Regions from separate parts of the Homo sapiens genome. Here region 1 is linked to region 2. The links are contacts of gene promoters, found by promoter capture Hi-C in human tissues and cell types (Jung and others, 2019). All regions are on one chromosome and are shown on one strand. Each heading gives the region's core, a stretch centred on a gene start or on the middle of the fragment in contact. The rest is flanking DNA. Distances are from core to core; before and after follow the strand shown.

Region 1 (3,598 bases), core at 146-2,645, 94 kb after region 2:
TGCTAAGTTGGGACCACACAGTGGTTAAGGCATGGGTTTTGTTTTGAAGGCAATTTTCAAATACACACAAGGAGAATGATTAGTAAAATCAACTCTTTGGACCAAAGGAGTTAAGGACATAACACCCCAAAATACCCTGACCTGGCATATTGATTATTTCAAGCCGAAAGCATCTGAGAAGCAGCAGTTGTAGATAAGATAGGACCTTCTGAGCCACCCTTTTGTCACCTCCCCATGGGTTCTTCTTGCCTGCTGCTTAGATAGAGTAGATTTATCAAGGCAGGGGAATTGCAATAGAGAAAGAATTTTATAGACGTAGGGCCGGCTACACAGAAGATCGGAGTTTTTTTTCTTTTTTCTTTTTGAGTTCAGGATTATATATATTACAATTTGCCTTGTTATAATACATTTGTGGCTTTATGATAAAAATAACTCAGGGACATATGGAATTCAAGCTGATTTGCGTAACTGTCACAAGAAAAAAAGCATTAAATGCATTTCTGAAATAAGTATTTTCATTTAATTTCAGAATCTCAAAACAGCATTAGACCTTGCCTTGTTTAAAAAAAATTAAGTTAAATACTAAGCTAAATAACCTTCTTGAAAGGTTTAAAAACACAATTGATATAGAAAATGTTTTCCCTCTAATCTCAACCTTACATAAATGGAACAGGTGAGGAAGAAAAGGTAGACAATTTCTTTAGCAGCCTATATGGCTAAATCCATCAAACACTAACTGGGGAAATATCAAAAATTAACCATTTCATAAACCAAAAGATAACAATTTTAGGGTTACAGTAAGTAAAATATTTTTGAAACACTTCAAAAACTTTTAACCATAAACTAGAGAATCATCTCTTCATTGTACGAAAGAAAGGACTAACAGAAAGTAAGACATTTAAACTAAACTGATTTTCAATCCTCTTAGAACAAAATGAAAAATAATGGTGGATTAGCTAAGCTTTGTGCTCTAATCAAACTAATTACAGTGATTTAAAATGGCAACAGCCCATCAGACTGGGCAGCTTGACAGTTCAGAATACTTTTGCAATAGTTTTTTAACGCAAAGACACTAAAATGATGGGGTCATGCAATGTCCATCTTATGCATTCTGCATCTCTTTGCCAACCTCGTAGCTAAGGATCTTGTTCCAATCAATCTTAGTGCGTGTAAGTAGCAATTGTCGATGTAAGGCTTTGAAAGTAGTGTCCGACATTGTCTGATAATTCTCACTAATGGCAGTCTGGTATTCATTTTCTGCAGCTTTTACAATCTTTGTAGATTCTTTTGCTGTTTGCACTTCATTAGACACTGTTAGGGAATCTTGTATATCTTTATGACTCACTAGCTGAACATTACTGTCTTCATAATAATGAACCTGAATTTTCAAGATGCCAACCACTTGAGTGGTTGAAGGAGTGATTATAAACCTCCATTCTGACCTCCAATGACCATTCCAAAAGTTTTTTGCTTGGAACTGATGGCTTTCTATGCATGCAATAGTGGTTTGCTGTCCATCTATTTTTTTTTTTTGCTATACGCAGTGCAGACTCCATTCGGGTAATGTTCTTTTACGTAAGCTCACAGAGTAGTTTCTACTTAAGTTCTCCATGATTCAATTGCATTTTCTACTTCACAGGGTCTTGGATCAGTTGCCTCCTTTCTTAAGTGATCAAATTTAAAACAGATTCTGTTCTTTGGATCCTAAAACTTTCCATTTCCCAAGTCGCCATGTTTTGTCATCAATACCTGATCTTCATAACCTTCCATTTTTACAGGAGTAAACTGCTCCAAGTTATACTGTGCAGACGCACGGGCTGCTTTTTCCCTTCTCTTCATCAGACAGCTCCTCCTCCAGACCCGCCATCTTCCTTCTAGCAACAAACTGTGGCGGGGGCGGGGGCAGTGGCCACGTGACTTACCCCTTTCCGTGCGGTGCTCGGCGCCGCGCACCACCCCCGGAGTTTTATTATTACTTAAATCAGCCTCCTCAAAAATTGGAGGCTGAGGTTTTTCGAGGACAGTTTGGGGGAAGGGCGGGTGGCTGGGCAATGGGTGCTTGCTGCTGATTGGCTCGGGGTGCAATCATAGGGGTGTGGAAAATGGTCTTCGTGTAGTGAGTTGCTTCTGGGTGGGGCCACAGGAGCAGCTGGCCGGTCCTCGTGGAGTCATCGGTTGTCAGAAATGCAACAAGACATCTCAAAAGGCCAATCTTAGGTTCTGTCATAATGATGTTATCTGCAGGAATAACTGGGAAATTTGCATAGCTTTTTTTTCTTTTCTTCTCTCTCTTTTTTTTTTTTTGTTCTGCTCTGCTGCCAGGCTGGACTGCAGTGGTACTATCTCGGCTCACTGCAACCTCTGCCTCCCGGGTTCAAGCCATTCTCCCACCTCAGCCTCCCGAGTAGCTGGGATTACAGGTGTGTGCTACCATGCCTGGCTAATTTTTATATTTTTAGTAGAGATGGGGTTTCACCATGTTGGCCAGGCTGGTCTGGAACTCCTGACCTCAAGTGATCCTCTCGTCTCAGCCTCCCAAAGTGTTGGGATTACAGGCATGAGCCACTGCGCCCAACCCATATCTTTGTGTAAAATAATTTTTTTTTAAATAAATAGAGACAAGGTCTCAGTATATTGCCCAGGCTAGTCTCAAACTCCTGGGGTCAAGAGATCCTCCTGCCTTAGCCTCCCAAAGTCCTGGGATTACAGGTGTGAGTCACCGTATCTGGCTGGAATTGGCATATCTCATGACCTCCAGAATAATGGCTGCAGTCATTTATGTCTACACATCCAGTGGTCTCTCATTAGTGTTGTGGAAAAAACTGGGTTCTTTTCTCACAGTCATGACAGGCTCACAGACACTTTGAAGGGTGAGAAGGGTAGGATTTATTGGGTGAAAAGGAACAACAAAAAAAAGGGAACAGGGATTCTTAGCAAAGCAAGAGTCCTGCTAGCAGGCTTCCCGCCTCACAGATTGAATCCCAGGTTACCACCCAGGAACAGGAGAGGCCAGGTTCCTCTCCCCTGCAAAGGGCGCAAACTTCCCATGGCTCCAGCCCATTCTCCCCCCCACACCCCTGTTCTCCCAGTGCCTTCATAAAACTGATCATTCTTTGTCCAAAAGGCTTTCTGCTTTGGTCATTTCTTAGGTCTTCACTCTCTTGTGAAGATCCTCATGTGTATGTAAAATTAATAAAACTTGTAGCTGGGCTTGGTGGCTCACGCCTGTAATCCCAGCACTTTGGAAGGCCAAGACAGGAGGATCGCTTTAGCCTGGGAGATCAAGACCAGCCTGGGCAACATAGGGAGACTCTCTCTACAAAAAATGTAAATACTAGCTGGGTATGGCATGCCTGTAGTCCCAGCTGCTCGGGAGGTTAAGGTGGGAGGATTCCTTGAGCCCAGGAATTTGAGGCTGCCGTGAGCTGTGATCACACCACTGAACTCCAGCCTCGGTGACAGAGCTAGACTCCGTCTCAAAAACAACAAACAAACAACAAAAAACTTGAATGCTTTTCTCTTGTTAATCTTTCTTGTATTTAATTTGGTTCCTAAACCCAGCCAGATATTCCACTTCAGAACTAAGACAGTGTTAACC
Region 2 (3,725 bases), core at 1,080-3,579:
GAGACTGGCCTGGCCAACACAGTGAAACCCCCATCTCTAATGAAAATACAAAATTTAGCTGGGTGTGGTGGCAGATGCCTGTAATCCCAGCTACTGGGGTGGCTAAGGCAGGAGAATTGTTTGAACCCAGGAGGCGGAAGTTGCAGTGAGCCAAGACCACACCACTGCACTCCAGACTGGCCGACAGAGCAAGACTCCAGCTCAAAAAAAAAAAATGGGCTGTGGTGACAATTATAGAAGATGTATGATGTCTGGTCCCTGGCATGCAGCAGGTGCTCAACAAATGAACATGGCAAAGATTTCAGGCTCTAGAAGCAGATTGGCTGCCTGCATTCAGTTCTGGCTCCACCCACTTACTAACCCTCTGTCATTGGACAAGTCGCTGCACCTCTCTGAGCCTCAGTTTCTTCATCTTTAAAATGGGGGTCACAAGCCAGGCACAGTGCCTCATGCCTGTTATCCCTGCACTTTGGGAGGCTGAGGTGGGCAGATCACCTGAGGTCAAGAGTTCAAGACTAGCCTGGCCAACACGGTGAAACCCCATCTCTACTAAAAATACAAAAATTAGCCGAGTGTGGTGATGAGCGCTTGTAGTCCCAGCTACTCGGGAGGCTGAAGCAGAAGAATCGCTTGAACCCAGGAGGCGGAGGTTGCAGTGAGCCGAGATTGAGCCATTGCACTCCAGTCTGGGCAAGAAGAGTGAGACTCCATCTCAAAAAAAAAAAAAAAGTTGGGGTGGGGGGGGCGGTCACGACAATACCAAACAGAAAACACTCTCGTGAAGATTAAGGGAGAGAATAGCTGCAGAGCACTGAAAATACTGCTTGATGCTTGATAAGGAGCAAGCACTGGGAAAATATGACCTGTTACTACTCTGGTGAGCAGTTCACACAGTGAAGTCTTACACCATCTCAGTGGCTCTTTCTCCTCTCTCACTGCCTACGAGACAAAGTGGTCACCACTGCCTCCTCTTCACAGTTGAGGAAACTGAGGCCAAGAGAGTGGAGGTCAGTGAACTACCCAAGGCGTTATCTTTGTCAAATATCTCGAACTTAGAGAAAGTTCAGGTTTCCTGATGACCAGCCCTTTGCTTTTCCCAGGCGCCCCAGCCTAGGGACCCCTCCACCCAAGAACAATAAGCCTGGGCTTGGAGGGAGGGTAGGTGCCACCTCCCTGCCAGGTGCATGTCCGCACTGGGCCTTCCGTGAGTACAAGTCCCCCAGGTACCAGCAGGAGGCAGCATCGCCCGCGAGGTCTGCACGAGCGCTGCTCCCAGCGAGAAATTTGACATCCCTGTCCCTGTTTGCACAAGGCTTGATCTCCGCCTTTGAAACCTGCAGCCCCCAGGAGAATGAAAACCGGAGGTGTTTCCCAATCCGCTGGCCCGGGCGGCGTCGAGGGAGAGAAGCCAGGGCCCCTCTCAATCGCTGCCCCCTACTCCAGGGAGCACAGGCACTCCCGCGGGTCAGCGCTGGACACCAAGGTCCCAACAGGTTTACAGGCTGCCTGTGGCCTGTGGCTGCCAACGAGCTGGTGGCAGGACTGGGTCCAAGTGCCGTGCTGTTTCCATACTGGCTGCGCACAAGCCTACGTTTCTCCCTGAGGGTCGCCATCTCCCACCCAGGGCTCTGCCCTCCACCCTCCCTACCCTTCTGGCCTCGCTGTCCCTGGGGCAAGAACCCCGGTGAGCGAGGTCTGGAACCCATAGGCATCAGTTGCCTTTGCCCCAGGCGCCCAGAGCCGGCCAGCTGCGGTCCAGAGGCGCAGGTCCGCCAGCCGCCTCGCAGGTTGCCCTCAGCCCCTCCCAGGACTCCCGGGGCCCCCGGAGCATCCAACAGATACCCAGGGGCAGGGCCTGGGGCGCCGCGGACGGCACTGGAGGCAGCCGACCCTGGACAGACGACAGGGGAGAGAGCCAAGCGGACCCTGGCAGGAAGGGGGCTGGAGGCGGACGGTGGTCTCGGAGGCCACGGGGTCCGCTCGGGCTCTGCTCCCTCACGGTGGGCACGAGGGTCCGGCGCCCGCATCCCCGCGCCGCTCCCTCCCCACTTGTGCCCCGGGCGCCCCTCGCCCGCGATCACAGCCCATCTCAGCCCGGGCCTCCGCAGTGCCCGGCCCACGCCTCCTGCCCCTTCCCCGGACCCTGCCCGGGAGGTGTGGGGACCCGCAGGGCACCCAAAGCGGTAAGGGAGGAACCCGGCCCGCACACAGCCCCAGAAGCCCAGCGACCCCTAAGCCACGTACCGTCCCCAGGCAGCTCCTCGACGGCTAGAGCTCTCGGGGGCCGCGAGCTGTCCCGGTCCAAGGCAGCAGTCTGATTTCGGGGAAATTAAAAGGGCAGAAAGGAAGCGGCAGCAGAAAAACCCCCGCGCTCCCGCCAGACCAGCCCCTTAAAGGAACACGCGCACCTTTCCCTCCCAAGGGCTGGGCTCGAAGGGAGGAGCTGCTGCAGGCTTGAGCGGTCTCCAGACTCGCTGGGAACCACCGCAAAGAGGGTGTGCAAGAGTTGAGGCCCTCACGTCTTGGGAAAGGAGAGTAGGGGTGGAATAGGAGAGTTTGGGGAGGGGGGATCCCCTTAGAAAGCCTGGTATACCAAAAACAGTGGGAGTAAGCAGGGGAAGCCCCTGTCCAGCATTCTGCTAGGGGCTAAGGCTGCTCCCCACCTTTGATTGTGGAAGGGGTGAGACTTCTGTATTACTTTCTTTTCCAAATAGAAAGCAAGGGGGTGAGGCCAGGTGCAGTGAGTGGCTCATGCTTGTAACCCCAGCACTTTGGGAGGTGGAGGCCGGTGGATCACCTGAGGTCAGGAGTTCAAGACCAGCCTGGGCAACATGGTGAAACCCTGTCCCTACTAAAAATACAAAATTAGCTGGGCGTGGTGGAGCATGCCTGTAATCCCAGCTACTTGGGAGGCTGAGGCAGGAGAATTGCTTGAACCCAGGAGGCGGAGGTTGCAGTGAGCTGAGATCATGCCATTGTGCTCCAGCCTGGGCAACAAGAGCAAAACTCCGTCTCAAAAAAAAAAAAAAAAAAAAAGCAAGGGGTTGCTGATGTCCTCATGCCCCTGAGTTTGGCCATCATGAAACACTGGCCAGATTCCCAACTCACTGTCAGGCACATAGCAGGTGCTATCCCCAGCACATGGGGCTTGAATGAGTGGCCCTGGCTGGGAGGGGAGACACAGGGTGGGATACCTCTGCAGCCTGCAGGGGCAATCAGGCTTCTGAGTGGTCCTCCAACAGGGGTGGGCCTCCCTTCGGAATCCTGCTAATCAGCACAGCCATCCAGGCAGCCGCTCAGGATGCCTCTGTTTGGACAGGGTGTTTTCTTTCCTGTCCAGACCAATGGGGGCCCTGGCCTGGACAGCCCGATGTTTCCTCAGCAGAAAAGACTAAGGAGGTCCTTCAGCTTTGGCTGGGGGAAGGGTCGAAGGGTCACAGGGTCACAGAGCTCAGAGCCTCTTCCTAAACACAGCTCAAGTTGGCCCATGAGTGTGTGTGTGTGTGTGCATGTGTGTGTGTTACACACAGCCAGGGGCACATTGGAGCACAAAGAACTGTGATCAACAGGTAAACTACACCTAAAAGGAACGCCAGGCTTGATGGGCAAAGGGGAGCCAAGGTAGGTCCCTCTGCAGGTTCCCGACAGGGGAGAGGATGGACAGTAGGGAGAGCACATTTTGCTACAGTTAAGTCGAGTTGAACATGCCAGCCAGGGGTAGGGGT

What was found. Contacts are between HindIII fragments. The study calls those that stand out against the background at their distance.
Region 1: a fragment that was not itself captured here is called in contact with the fragment with the promoter of HAPLN3 in region 2 in 2 of the 25 tissues and cell types used here (IMR-90 fibroblasts and psoas muscle).

The regions. Positions count from the first base shown.
Region 1 is chr15:88,988,417-88,992,014 of GRCh38, forward strand. It overlaps the pseudogene LOC100129942. Among named protein-coding and RNA genes, the nearest start is that of CARMAL, 51 kb to the right of the region's middle. The HindIII fragment of the contact is 3,911 bases long and covers 1-3,351 here.
Region 2 is chr15:88,893,215-88,896,939 of GRCh38, forward strand. It overlaps HAPLN3 (hyaluronan and proteoglycan link protein 3), which reads right to left and starts at 2,330. Exons shown (of 5, transcript NM_178232.4): 1 at 2,245-2,330. RefSeq lists an enhancer at 1,556-2,167. The HindIII fragment of the contact is 23,597 bases long and covers 1-3,725 here.